Linked DNA regions of Homo sapiens: all the other regions are linked to region 3. The links are contacts of gene promoters, found by promoter capture Hi-C in human tissues and cell types (Jung and others, 2019). All regions are on one chromosome and are shown on one strand. Each heading gives the region's core, a stretch centred on a gene start or on the middle of the fragment in contact. The rest is flanking DNA. Distances are from core to core; before and after follow the strand shown. Region 1 overlaps TRARG1 (trafficking regulator of GLUT4 (SLC2A4) 1 (gene/pseudogene)). Region 2 has its middle 34 kb from the start of ABR-AS1. Region 3 holds the start of PITPNA (phosphatidylinositol transfer protein alpha). Region 4 overlaps RPA1 (replication protein A1). Region 5 holds the start of SMYD4 (SET and MYND domain containing 4).

What was found. The method cuts DNA at HindIII sites, captures the fragments that hold promoters and counts their contacts. A contact is called where the count stands out against the background at its distance.
Region 1: a fragment that was not itself captured here is called in contact with the fragment with the promoter of PITPNA in region 3 in 4 of the 25 tissues and cell types used here (dorsolateral prefrontal cortex, lymphoblastoid cells, mesenchymal stem cells and 1 more).
Region 2: a contact is called between a fragment that was not itself captured here and the fragment with the promoter of PITPNA in region 3, in 3 of the 25 tissues and cell types used here (dorsolateral prefrontal cortex, lymphoblastoid cells and spleen).
Region 4: a contact is called between a fragment that was not itself captured here and the fragment with the promoter of PITPNA in region 3, in 2 of the 25 tissues and cell types used here (dorsolateral prefrontal cortex and mesenchymal stem cells).
Region 5: the fragment with the promoter of SMYD4 here is called in contact with the fragment with the promoter of PITPNA in region 3 in 1 of the 25 tissues and cell types used here (dorsolateral prefrontal cortex).

The regions. Positions count from the first base shown.
Region 1 is chr17:1,299,520-1,302,219 of GRCh38, reverse strand. TRARG1 (trafficking regulator of GLUT4 (SLC2A4) 1 (gene/pseudogene)) reads right to left here. Exons shown (of 3, transcript NM_172367.3): 3 at 1,242-2,700. Among named protein-coding and RNA genes, the nearest start is that of TRARG1, 21 kb to the right of the region's middle. The HindIII fragment of the contact is 5,551 bases long and covers 1-2,700 here.
Region 2 is chr17:1,213,867-1,216,566 of GRCh38, reverse strand. It overlaps a transcript of ABR not described here. Among named protein-coding and RNA genes, the nearest start is that of ABR-AS1, 34 kb to the right of the region's middle. RefSeq lists an enhancer at 1-220. The HindIII fragment of the contact is 9,567 bases long and covers 1-2,700 here.
Region 3 is chr17:1,561,489-1,564,188 of GRCh38, reverse strand. It overlaps PITPNA (phosphatidylinositol transfer protein alpha), which reads left to right and starts at 1,397. Exons shown (of 12, transcript NM_006224.4): 1 at 1,397-1,648. The coding sequence starts at 1,629. RefSeq lists silencers at 1,225-1,504, 1,575-1,624, 2,105-2,234 and enhancers at 1,077-1,576, 2,345-2,444. The HindIII fragment of the contact is 13,696 bases long and covers 1-2,700 here.
Region 4 is chr17:1,883,228-1,885,927 of GRCh38, reverse strand. It overlaps RPA1 (replication protein A1), which reads right to left. Exons shown (of 17, transcript NM_002945.5): 13 at 1,984-2,116. Among named protein-coding and RNA genes, the nearest start is that of RPA1, 55 kb to the right of the region's middle. The HindIII fragment of the contact is 3,595 bases long and covers 1-2,700 here.
Region 5 is chr17:1,828,548-1,831,247 of GRCh38, reverse strand. It overlaps SMYD4 (SET and MYND domain containing 4), which reads left to right and starts at 1,346. Exons shown (of 11, transcript NM_052928.3): 1 at 1,346-1,522. RPA1 (replication protein A1) reads right to left here and starts at 1,243. Exons shown (of 17, transcript NM_002945.5): 1 at 1,122-1,243. The coding sequence starts at 1,154. RefSeq lists an enhancer at 1-347 and a silencer at 975-1,494. The HindIII fragment of the contact is 28,265 bases long and covers 1-2,700 here.

The sequences.
Region 1 (2,700 bases), core at 59-2,558, 260 kb after region 3:
ACAACGAGAGCGAAACTCTGTCTCAAAAAACAAAACAAAACAAAAGTGTGTAAGGACACATGTACATCATATTTTTCAGTTCAATCAATGTTCGTTTTGAAGCTTGTCAGCTTCAACATATTGGTCAGGCTGGTCTCAAACTGGTGGCCTCAGGTGATCCGCCCGCCTCAGCCTCCCAAAGTGCTGGGAGCAGTTACAGGGTGTGGAAACAGTCAGCTCCCTTGGCAGAGCCCGCAGGCTTTTATGGTCTGGAGAGGCCCCTGTCACCGAGGCACGCTTCTCAAGGACTGTCCTGCTCTACTGGCTCCTGACTGTATGACCTTGGCTAAGCCCCTGGATCGCCTGAGTTTTATTTCTTCCCAGGAAAATGGGAGGATCCCTCGTGGAAGTGTTGTGAGGATTAAATGAGGTAATTCCAGCGGAGCAGGGAGCCCCGCGCCTGGCACACAGGAAGCGGCGCCGTGGCCTCCAGTCTGGATGGAAGGAGCTTCCGCTCACAGGGATCCTGCAACCTGGGAGGCTCCTGGTTGCTGGGGCCCCTCCCTCCCTCCTTCTACAGACTTGTCCTCAGCACCTGCTACGTGCCAGGCTCTGTACTGAACCCTGGGGACGCAGACACTTAGGGCAGGCTTCCTGGACCATGTGACTCCGACCTAAAGAAAACGCTCTAGGAAGGCAGAGAGTTGGTTGTTGGGGGTGGCAGTGAGTGTCCCAGTAGTGAGGCCAGCAGGGTGGGGAACCTGGTGGTCTAGGGACTGTCCCAGGAGGTCTGGGAGCCAGGAGCAGGAACATGGCTCAGCTCACTGCAGCTCCAACTTCTCTGACTCAAGTGATCTTCCCACCTCAGCTTCCTGAGTAGCTGGGACCTCAGGCGTGCAGCACCACGCCTGGCTGATTTTTAAATGTTTTCTAGAGACAGAGTCTCCTCATGTTGCAGGCTGGTCTCGAACTCTTGCCTGCCCTCTTCTCTCCAGGCCTGAGATCTATGCAGAAAGGACTGAAGGGAGATGAGACTGGCATTACCACTTATTTTACAGTTGGACAAACTGAGTCCCGGAGTGGACAAGTGACTTGCCCAGAGGAACGCCTTGAGTTGGCCACGGAGCCCCGATGTGCCAGGTTCCCAGTGCGCAGCCTCAGCCTGACCCTGGGGCCACAGGCGGAGTGGACTGCTCACCCCCGGATTGTTTGGAACCCCCTTGACCCCAGCAGCACAAACACACAGGCCAGAGGCGAGCACGTACATTCAGGTTTATTTATTTCCATGCTAAGACACACAGCGGCGTCACTGGTGTAGATGGTGAAGGCAGTGTGGGGTGGGTCTTGCTACTCCCTGTGGGACACAGGGAGAGGCTGGGTTAGTGCGTTAAGCCGGGCCACTGTGTTCATGCAGGTGGCGGCTAGAACCAAGATGGAGCCGGGACAGCAGGGCCACTGACCCCTCTGGCCTCCAGGCGGCGTGGGGCACGGGCTGTGGGGACCCTCCGTCCAGGTCCCCTGGTGTCCAGAATGGCTTTCTCCTCCAGGGCCCAAGCCCTTCTCCTGCTCTGTGCTCTGCGGGCCTCCGCCTCCTACACACACCTCGGGGGCCTCTGAGCTCTGTCCCTGGTGCCCTAGGAAACTCTCAAGTTATCCTCGCCTGCCTGGAAGAGCGCCCTGGCTGTGCTGTGCCCATTCCAGGGGCATCTGCAGTGGCTTCCCCTAAGCGGTGGCTGTGGCTGTCCTGGGTTCTGAGTGTGAACAAGCGTGTGTGTGTGTGTGTGTGTGTGTAGGAGTGCACGGCAGAGCCTATTTGTGTGGGTGTGAGAAGGTCTGGGCATGTGTGGCACTCCGAGGGCACCTAGAGTCCCTTCGGGTGTCATGTTCCTCCCGTGACAATCCCTCAACCATCGGTTCGTTTCTGTCCTCTCCCTGGGTTGCTGAGGCTGAGGACCCCGGGGGCCTGCCGGGAAAACGCCCACTCATCATCCCTCCTTCCAGAGCCAGAGCCTGTGCGTGGCCAGTTCCATCGACCTCGCCTCTCCCCTGTGTGACGTGACTTCACGAGGGACAGAAATACTCCGTGCTCACACCCTCCCCCAGCAAACAGGAGCATCTGTTTTGGTCTCAAAGATCCCATAAAGCAAACCCAACCAGTCCCTTCTGTATGAGCAGGAGAGGCTGGAGTTTATTCCCCAGGTGGGGACTGACGTAGGAACACCAGCCCCAAAGGACCAGCCCGGGCCCCCTGAGCCCTGCACCCCTGCCCTCTAGCAGTCACACGGGCTGTGGAAGGCTCAGAGCTCCAGCTGTGCATAGACCCAGGGCCCCTCCCTGTAGACAGAACCTCTGTACTGACCTGCTCTTCCCTTCCCCGGGCCTCTGAGGAGGGTGGGGAGGCGAACAAGGGCCTGGAGAGGAGGCAGGAGGGTCCTGATGGGACAAAGGATGCTGACTTCAACAGCTTTGGGCCACTCTGGGTGTGGCTGGGAGCCCTTCCCATGAAGGCATTGACTCTGGCTGTGAGGTGGGGCTGCCCAGGGCAGGAAAGCCTGGAGGTCTCCAGGGCCTGGGAGCTGCGGTCAGGAGGGTGGGCGGGGGCAGGAGAGGTGCCTGTGGCTGGAGCCTGGGCCAGGGAGAAGTGTAGGGAAAATCATGGGCCTGGAACGAAGGAAGAGGCCGAGGGCCCCACTTGGCTCCTTTCGGGGGTCCCATTAGGTC
Region 2 (2,700 bases), core at 21-2,520, 350 kb after region 3:
GATTTTCTTGAAAGATGGGAAGATGGGCAATGTGAATGGGAGGCATTAGTTAGAGCCGACGGGCCCCTTCAGGCTGGACGTGATTTTGCCAATGGCGTCAGCTTTCCTCTGGCCCCTTTCTCCACTTCTGACGTGAGAGGAGTGAGTCTAGTGCAGGGAACAGAGGAAGACTCGGAGCTGGGTTTGCGGCTGCCTCTGCTACTCACTCCTGCGTGACTCTAGGCAAATGACACAGCCCCTGTGGGCCCCGCTCTCCTCCTCTGGAGCAGGGGGTTATAACAGCTTCCCTACCTCGCAGATTTGTGAGAACTGAGCAAGTTGATATAAGGGCTGAGCCTGGCACATAGTAAGTTCTATTTAGGTGTTCAGTTTCTTTCTTTTTTTTTTTAGTATTTATTGATCATTCTTGGGTGTTTCTCGGAGAGGGGGATTTGGCAGGGTCATAGGACAATAGTGGAGGGAAGGTCAGCAGATAAACAAGTGAACAAAGGTCTCTGGTTTTCCTAGGCAGAGGACCCTGCGGCCTTCCGCAGTGTTTGTGTCCCTGGGTACTTGAGATTAGGGATTGGTGATGACTCTTAACGAGCACGCTGCCTTCAAGCATCTGTTTAACAAAGCACATCTTGCACCGCCCTTAATCCATTTACCCTGAGTGGACACAGCACATGTTTCAGAGAGCACGGGGGTTGGGGGTAAGGTCACAGATCAACAGGATCCCAAGGCAGAAGATTTTCTCCCAGTACAGAACAAAATGGAGTCTCCTATGTCCACCTCTTTCTACACAGACACAGCAACAATCCGATTTCTCCTTCTTTTCCCCACATTTCCCCCTTTTCTATTCGACAAAACCGCCATCGTCATCATGGCCCGTTCTCAATGAGCTGCTGGGTACACCTCCCAGACGGGGTGGCGGCCGGGCAGAGGCTGCACTCTGGGCACTTTGGGAGGCCAAGGCAGGCGGCTAGGAGGTGGAGGTTATAGTGAGCCGAGATCACGCCACTGCACTCCAGCCTGGGCACCATTGAGCACTCAGTGAACGAGACTCCGTCCGCAATCCCGGCACCTCGGGAGGCCGAGGCTGGCAGATCACTCGCGGCTAGGAGCTGGAGACCAGCCCGGCCAACACAGCGAAACCCCGTCTCCACCAAAAAAATACGAAAACCAGTCAGGCATGGCAGCGCGCGCCTGCAATCGCAGGCACTCGGCAGGCTGAGGCAGGAGAATCAGGCAGGGAGCTTGCAGTGAGCCGAGATGGCAGCAGTACAGTCCAGCTTCGGCTCGGCATCAGAGGGAGACCGTGGAGAGAGAGGGAGAGGGAGAGCTCTTTCTTTTCTTTTTTTTTTTTTTGAGACAGAGTCTTGCTCTGTCACCCAGGCTAGAGTGTAGTGGGGAGATCTAGGCTCACTGCAATCTCTGCCTCCTGGGTTCAAGTGATTCTCCTGCCTCAGCCTCCTGAGTAGTTGGGACTACAGGCACACACCATCACGCCTACCTAATTTCTGTATGTTTTGTAGAAATGGGGTTTTGCCATGTTGCCCAGGGTGGTCTTAAACACCTGGACTCAAGCAATCTGCCTGCCTCCACCTCCTAAAGTGCTGGGACTATAGGCGTGAGCCACCCCACCTGGTCAAGAGCAATACTTTTTTGGTCTGAGTATTTTATTTGGAGAGAAATAGAACTTGGCCATTGAGCTTATATACACCGAGATAGCTGCCACATTACAGGGAAAAACTATGTACAATCAAATATATATATTTTTTTCTTTGAGGTGGAGTTTCGCTCTTGTTGCCTAGGCTGGAGTGCAGTGGCACGATCTTGGCTCGCTGCAACATCCGCCTCCCAGGTTCAAGCGATTCTCCTGCCTCAGCCTCCCGAGTAGCTGGGATTACAGGCATGTGCCACTACGCCTGGCTAATTTTGTATTTTTAGTAGAGATGGGGTTTCTCCATGTTGGTCAAGCTGGTCTCGAACTCCTGACGTCAGGTGATCTACCTGCCTCAGCCTCCCAAAGTGCTGGGATTACAGGCATGAGCCACTGCACCCGGCCAGGATCAGAATTTTTATATTCAAATCTTAAATCTCTCCTTTATATTCCTTTAAATTGCTATTAACTGTAGATATTCAGCATTGTTAGGGTAATTTAAACTTGTTAAGGAATAATTTAAATATTTTGCCTAAGTCATCCCTGGGGTGGTGGTTACTCATGGAGAGGAAATATATATATATACACACACATCCTAGTATCATAGATTCCAAAAACTGATGAAAGCCAAAATAAATGTTCATTTTAGGTTGAAGGGACCTGAAGTTAGCTTATCTTTAGGTTTAAGGTGGTGGTGGGGGGCGGGGAAGTCCAAGTCCTGTGTAACATTTCACATCTCAGGCCGGGAGCGGTGGCTCATGCCTGTAATCCCAGCACTTTGGGAGCCCGAGGCGGGTGGATCACAAGATCAGGAGTTCGAGACCAGCCTGACCAACATGATGAAACCTCTTCTCTACTAAAAATACAAAATTAGCCGGGCGTGGTGGCGGGCGCCTGTAATCCCAGCTACTCGGGAGGCTGAGGCAGGAGAATCACTTGAACCCGGGAGGCGGAGGATGCAGTGAGCCGAGATTGTGCCATTGCACTCCAGCCTGGGCGATAGGGCGAGACTCGGTCTCAAAAAACAAAAAACAAACCATTTCACATCTCTCCAAAAT
Region 3 (2,700 bases), core at 148-2,647:
TGTCCTAGTCCACCTGCACCTGGACATCTGCAGCAGCCTCCTCGCCGGTCTCCCTGCCTACGCTCTGGCATTCCATCCCCTCTGTCCACCCAACCACTAGAGTGAGCCTTCGCCCAGGACACCCGCTCATGTCACTGCTCAGAGCCCTTACATGCCCTCCCACCGCCCTTAGGGTGGACTCCAAATACCTTATCATCGTTCACCAGGAACCCTCCCCTATTGAGCTGCTCAGCCCTGAAATGTTCTGTTCCACTCACTTGTCAGTTCTCCAAATGCACCATGCTCTCCCTCTTGCCTCCAGCCTTTGCATTCACTCTGCCTGCTATGCTCTTCTCCGAAGCCCTCTGCAGATCTGAGAATCTCTTCCTCCAGGAAGCCTTCCCTGACTACATCCCTGACGCTCAATTAGGTGCCCCTCCGTGTAATGCCGCTAAGCCTGTGTCTCATTTCTCACAGCCCTTTTCATTCTTTTTTTTTTTTTTTTTTTTGATGCAGAGTCTCGCTCTGTCGCCCCAGCTGGAGTGCAATGGTGCGATCTCGGCTCACTGCAACCTCCGCCTCCAGGGTTCAAGCGATTCTCCTGCCTCATCCTCCCGAGCAGCTGGGACTACCACCACCACGTCCACCACCACGCCCGGCTAATTTTTGTACTTTTAGTAGAGATGGGGTTTCGCCATCTGGTCTGGAACTCCTGACCTCAGGTGATGCGCCCGCCTGAGTGCTGCATTACAGGCATGATGTGCCTGGGATTACTGCCAGGAGCCACCGCGCCCGGCCTCACAGCCCTTTTCTTTTCTTTTTTTTTTTTTTGAGACGAAGTTTCACTCTTGTCCCCCAGGCTGGAGTGCAATGGCGCGATCGCGATCTCGGCTCACTGCAAACTCTGCCTCCCGGTACAAGCGATTCTCCCGCCTCAGCCTCCCGTGTAGCTGGGATTACAGGTGCGTGCCTCCACGCCCAGCTAATTTTTGTATTTTTAGTAGAGACGGGGTTTCATCATGTTGGCCAGGCTGGTCTCGAACTCCTGACCTCAGGTGATCCGCCCGCCTCGGCCTCCCAAGGTGCAAGGATTACAGGCGTGGGCCACCGCGCGCGGCTATTAATATTTTTTGAAACAACCTTTTCCTGGGTCTCAATTCCCTCAACCGGGGAGGCCCCCCAGCCAGCACCCGCGTGCATCCGTGGCGGTTCACACCGAGGACGGTGACGGACACCCTAGTCTGCTCCGCCTTCTGCCGGGTCTGGCCCCAGCCGCGGGGCCCCACCTCGGAACCGACAGCGCCGCCGCGGCCCACTTAAGGACGGGAGGGCGGGCCTGGGAAGGCTCGGCCCCGCGTGACGTCAGCGCGCACCGCGGCGTGTGACGCTCTGGTTGCCGCAGAGACGCCCCGCCCCCGCGCGGCGCTGCGGAACCGGAGCTCCGGGCGGCGTCGGCAGCGGCGCGAGAGGCGACGAGGCCCGGGCGGCAGGAGCCGGCGCGGCGACCGCGGCGAGGGCGGCGGGGACGGAGCAGAGCACGACGAAGACGCACAGGCAGCCGGGCCGGGCCGGGCCACGGGGAGAGCGGCCGGCGGGCAGCGGGCGGGAGGCCGGGCGGGCCGCGGGCAGCCACCGAGCCGCGAAGCGACATGGTGCTGCTCAAGGAGTAGTGAGTGTCCGGCGGCCGTGCGGAAGCGGGGAGGAGGGAGGGTGGGGACGGCCGCCGGGGCGACGGCGCGGCGAGGGACGCAGGGCCCGGATGGACGGAGGGGCAGCAGGGACGGAGGGTGCCTGAGGCGGGCCCAGCGGGGATGGAGGGGATCCGGGGCGGGCGGCACGTGAGGCGGGGCCCACGGGGCACGGAGGGGCGGCCGGGGCGTGGAGGGGCGGCCGGGGCGTGGAGGGGCAGCCGGGGCGTTCGGCATCTGAGCCGGGGCCCACGGGGCATGGACGGGCAGCCGGGGCATGGAGGGGCCCACGGGCACGGAGGGACAACCCGGGCGGACGGCTCCTCAGGCGCCCCGGGGGCCTCGGAGGCCCAAGTGGACCCGAGGAGAGGCCGGGGACAGCGAGGGCGAGGCCAGGCCCGAGACGGGGTCAGGGCAGGGAGAGCTGGCCCGGGACTGGGGGAGGCCGAGGGGACGCCGAGCGCTGGGAGTGCTGTGGGGTCGCTCTGCGCGGGCCGAGGGCGCGGGCTCAGCCGGGACTGCAGGCGGCGCTGAGAGGCCCCGCGGCGGCCGAGGAAGAGGCGCACCGGGGCAGGCAGGGCCTCCCGGCGGTGGGGAAAGGTGGAGGGCCGAACAGTTCACACGGAGAGCCGGGTGGATGGGTCAGAGGCTCCGCGATGGAGTTGGGATGGGGATGGGGAGGAGTGGCCGCCTTAGGCATCGGGTGAGGGGTGGTGGTAAGTGGACACAGGAGGAGGACTAGGAAGTCAGGGCCTGGCTGGGGAGACAGGTGAAGGGTCTGAGGACATGCAGAGGGGGCTGAGATGCGGGCCGGAGTAACCGTGGTGCCCAAGCAGCTGGTGCGGAAGAGGAGGCTTTTGGAACAAGCTTGGGATGACTGCTTGGGACGTGGGGAGACTTGGGCGAGGAGGCCAGAAAATGTTGGGTAGGGTCCGAAGTGGAGAAGGCCGGGAAGTTACCGGGGTCGAGGCTGGTCCGGAAAGAGAGTATGTTGGGATGAGTATACCTGCCGTTGGAGATGGGGGAGACCAGG
Region 4 (2,700 bases), core at 113-2,612, 320 kb before region 3:
GTTTTCATGCTTGATAACAACATCTATTCTGCAGCCCATGCAAATCAAGGAGTAATTTTGACTTTTTAAGTCTAAGAGACATATTTCATGAGGCGATAGTTGCCACAGTGATTCCTCTGATGGATCTGGGGAAAGTAAATTGAAAACCTGAAAAGGATTCACCATTCTAGATGCTATTAAGAACAGTTGGCTGGGCACAGTCGCTCACACCTGTAACTCCTGGCACTTTGAGAGGTTGAGGCAGGGAGATCCCTTGAGCCCAGGAGTTTGAGAGCAGCCTGGGCAACATGACACAACTCAGTCTCTACAAAAAATACAATTAGCCAGGTGTGGCAGCACCTGTAGTCCCAGCTTGGGAGCCTGGGGAGGTTGAGACTGCAGTGAGCTGTGATCAAGCCAGTGCACTCCAGCCTGAGTGACAGAATGAGACCCTGTCTCAAGTTAAAAAAAAAAGGAACATTCATGATTCATGGGAGGAGATCAAAATCCCAACATCAACGGGAGTTTGGAACAAGTTGATTCCAACCCTCAAGGTAGACACTGAGGCTTCAAGACTTTGGTGGAGGAGGGATCTGTAGATGTGACGAAAATAACGAGAGAACTAGAATTACAAATGGAGCCTGAAAATGGGCCTGAACTGCTGTAATCTCACGATCAAACTTGAACGGATAAGGAGCTGCTCCTTACGATGGGCAAGGAAAGTGCTTTCTTGAGATGAAATCTCTTGTGGTGAGAACGCTGTGAGCATTGTTGAAATGACGACAAAGGATTTAGAATTTGCATAAGCTTGGCTGATAAAGCAGTGACAGGACCTGAGAGGGAGAGACTCCAGTTTGAAAAAGTTCTCCTGTGGGTAAAATGCTGTCAAACAGCATCGCCGGCTATGGAGAAAGCTTTTGTGAAAGGAAGAGTCAACCAATGTGGCACACTTCACTGCTGTCTTATTTTAAGAAACTGCCAAAGACACGCCGATGTTCAGCAACCATCGCCGTGACTGCTCAGCCATCAACCCTGAAACAAACCCCCACCAGCAAGAAGATTACGACTCAGATGATTGTCAGCATTTTTCAGCAATAAAGTTTTTGTTTCAAGAGAAGGGGTCTTCCATGTTGCTCAGTCGAACTCCTGGGCTCATGTAATCCACCTGCCTCAGCCTCCTGGGTAGCTGGGATTACAGAGAACCGAAAGAGTGGGTGTCCCATGACAGGACAACGAGGATCTGTCCAGTGTTTAATTCTTGAGATGTTCTATAAGAGCACTTAAGAGCTGCTGTTGACAATGATGGATAAGGGTATACAGTGAAATGAGACAGGAGGAATGAAACCTACACTGTATATGATGAAAATAAAAGAGCAGGCGTAAAGGAGAAATAAATGATCTAAATACTAAACTGCTGGCAGAACACAGGCTTAGATCAAGATGGGAGGAGGGTCATTAAATACAAACACTGAAAGGAAAAAGCTGCAACTAAAAGTCAAATGTCAGGGCCAATCCTTGTCCGGGAATGCCGGCAGCTCTCAGCCTATGAGGTTAATACACTATTCTACAGCCAGGAACAGCACCCGTGAAACTGCCTCATGTCTGACCTGAGGCGGACTAACGCTCATCTCAAAAAACATCTTTTTGATATGTGGGCGCTTAAATTTGCAGGAAGGATCACAGGAAAGAAACGTGGACCCGAAAGCAGGTGATATTATACCACAAAGCTTGACTGTCACCCCTGCTCCAAGATCCCTCTAGGAATTGACTCTAAGAGTTCTTCAGACTCTCCTGCCTCCAGTCCCCTGAGGGGTAACACATATTCCCATGAGCACACCTGGCTGCTTCCCTCTGCCAGTGATTCTCAACCCCCATGCCACGCTCAGGTCACAGCCCCGGGTAAGAATTACGGCTCTGACAGCTGGTGCTGGAAACCAAGTTTCTAAATCCATCCTTCTGCACACTTTACAGCCCTTTGTGAAGGTGGTTAGGAATGCTGGGTACCTTGTCGCCTTGGCCCAGGTTCTCGGATTTGACCTCATACAAGGTTTTCCAGTTGGTGTTACTCCCTCCGACTCCGCCGCTCTTTAGATCAGAGATGGAAACACCATCTAAGGCTTGTCCTTCTGCGTCAAACCTGAAAACGTGAACGAATAACGATGACGAGCGCTTGATGTGACATGCTTCTGCTTCTCCACATGCAACTTGCTGCTACGCGACAGACACAGGTTTCCCACCACCCGCCCAGCTTTCACACAGGTCACGGTCATGTCGGCTGAAGCTGGTATCTTCGTAATTATATATTTTTTATAATATTTAAATTAAAAAAAATTGTGTCAGAGTTTCACTCTGTCACCCAGGCTGGAGTGCAATGATGCAATCATGGCTCAAGGCAGCTTTGACCCCCTGAGCTCAGTGATCCTCCCACCTTTGCCCTGCTAAGTAACTGGGACTTCCATGCCCAGGCCCATTAAAAAAATTTTTTTTAGGCTGGGCGCAGTGGCTCATGCCTGTAACCCCAGCATTTTGGGAGGATGAGGCGGGCGGATCACGAGGTCAAGAGATCAAGACTATCCTGGCCAACATGGTGAAACCCCGTCTCTACTAAAAATACAAAATTAGCCGGGCGTGGTGGTGGGTGCCTGTAATCCCAGCTACTCGGGAGGCTGAGGCAGGAGAATCACTTGTAGGCAATTCTCAGGAGGCGGAGGTTGCAGTGAG
Region 5 (2,700 bases), core at 97-2,596, 270 kb before region 3:
GGCCCAGACTTAGAAAGATAAAGAATTTGCTTTGGGATACGTATACTGAACTTAAAACCCTCTGAAGCATGGAATAAGCAGACAGATGACGGAAGTTTGTCTTTTAGAGTAAAGGTGGCTCTGTACAAAGAAATTTGTGAGCAACTGACATATATTAATAGATGGCAATGGAATTGCCTTGGGGCCAGGCGCGGTGGTTCATGCCTGTAATTCCAGCATTTTGGGAGGCCGAGGCGGGCGGATAACTTGAGGTCTGGTGTTCGAGATCAGCCTGGCCAACATGATGAAACCCAGTCTCTAATAAAAACACAAAAAGTAGCCGAGTGTGGTGGCGCACACATGTAGTCCCAGCTACTCGGGAGGCTGAGACAGGAGACTCACTTGCACCCGGGAGACGGAGGTTGCAGTGAGCCGAGATCGCGCCTCTGCACTCCAGCCTGGGCGACAGTGAGTGTCGCCCAGGCTGGAGAAAAAAAAAGAAATTGCCTCGGGAGTCAAGAGGGCCTAGAGGGAGCCTTGATTCAACAAAAATTTACAAAGAGGGACTTACAAATAAGACGGGGATAGACCTGCCAAGCTGAGCCACTAAAAACCAAGGAAGAGGGTGTGACCTGAAGCAAGCAGGGCTTAAACGCAAACGCTGCTGAGAACTCAGGTAAGCTGAAAACGGAAAAGGGCTGGATTTAGCAACTTGGAGGCCACTGGTACCTTCAGCCAGGGTTTTCTACAGCGATCAAAGGGATGACTGGAGTGGGTTAAAGAGTTGATGAAAGGCGAGGAAAGGAAGTGGCTGAAACCAGACAAGAAGTTTGGCTGTGGGTGGGGAAAGGAGAAGAGACAGAAAGTGTCCGCAGGTGGAAGATGCAGAGAAAGGCAAGCGTTTATTTAGTTTGTTCTTACGTAGGAAAAATGTGAGCATGTTTTAAAGACGATCGAAAGAATGCTTTGAGGAGGGGGCGATGACACTAGAGGGACGCCCGGCGGGTCCCCACCGCCCCCCGCCATCTCCTCCCCTCGCGTTCATCCCCCGTCGCCCCGGGCTCCCCTCCCCCTCTCTACTCCGCGAGGCTCGGGGCCGCAGCCACCCCGGACCGCCGGCCCAGCCCCCGGCACCTCCTCACCGCAATGGCCCCCTCGCTCAGTTGGCCGACCATGGCTCCACCGCCAAGACTTCCCCGCGGACCCCGCAACAGCTCCAGCTTCCCCACCCGGGTCCCGCGCGCTGCGCAGTTATTGGCCCGAGAAGTTGCGCGCACCGCTCCCGCCCCCGACGTGCGCGCGGCTCAGGGGCGGGCCCGGGCGCTACGCAGCCGCCGCATTGGCCGAGGCGCGGCCCACGTGACCCACCCATGGTCCCAAGCGAGGCCTGGCGCGGGACGCCGGACGCGGTGCGGGGCGGAGCGGGGCGCCAAGGGGCGCGCCAGGAGCTGCGCGGGCGCTGGGAGGGAGACCAGGGCGCAGTTCCGGGCGCGTCTGAGCGGTTCTCGAGGCGTTCTCGCCTCGGTCTCTGGCGAGTGCACGGGTTGGTATCCCAGAGGAGGTTAAAGCTGTTCCTTGAGACCTCCGCTGCTAAATAGAGTCGCAGTAGTGACCCGATTCGTCCAGCAACGCGGGGCTGACTTCCCGCCTCCAAGCCCTGAGCTTGGCACCGTGGCGGTGGGGGGTGGGGGTGGGGGGTCTCCGAAAGGGAATCAGACCCGGCCCCCGTCCTTAGAGAAGAGGACAGTGTGTGGGGGCACTTTATGCCGTCAGTAACCCCACCTCCAGGTAGACGTGGTACAGGCCCCAAGGGTGTTGGAATCACAGCTGGGAAATCAGGGACGCCGTCCCGGAGGAGGTGCCATTTGAGCCGAGTCGAAGAACGTGTGGGAATTTTCCAGGTGGACTCCATAAGCCAGGGTAGGGTTGGTCCGGAAAGCATGAGTAGCCTATGCCAAAACATTGGAGAGTTGAAATAGCCTGGCAAGCCGGGGATAGCAATGAGTTGTTCAGTATGCAAGGGTGCATGCAGAGGAGTAAGTGACACCTGAGAATTAGAAAGTCAGACAAGGGTCAAGTAAGGATGGTTTTGTCCTGGGCTTCCTGGTATGCTTGGAGTAGCGTTGATGAATTTAAGGGCAGAGCACTGACTTCTGTCTCAGTGTTGGAGGCTGGATTGAAAGTGGGGAGTGGTGCCAATGGCATGGACATTAATTATAACACTCTAGGAAGAATGCCAGACGAGATGGTGAGGACTTAATCAGAACGCTGAACTATGTAAGAGAGGGAAATACCTTGTTAAATGAATAGTTGCTGGGGTGGGTGAGAAAGAAAAATCTGGGATGTGTCTCAGAGAAACTAGAGAGGGATCAGGCCGGGCGCGGTGGCTCACGCCTGTAATCCCAGCGCTTTGGGAGGCCAAGGCTGGCGGATCATCTGAGGTCAGGAGTTCGAGACCAGCCTGGCCAACATGGTGAAACCCCGTCTCTACTAAAAATACAAAAATTAGCCGGGCGTAGTTGCGCGCATCTGTAATCCCAGCTACTCGGAGGCTGAGGCAGGAGAATTGCTTGAACCTGGGAGGCGGAGGGTGCAGTGAGCCGAGATGGTGCCACTGCACTCCAGCCTGGGTGACAGAGCAAGACTCTGCCTCACAAAAAAAAAAAAAAGAGGATCTAAGAGCACAGATGGTAGCTATCTAGTCTGCTTCGTCTTTGTATA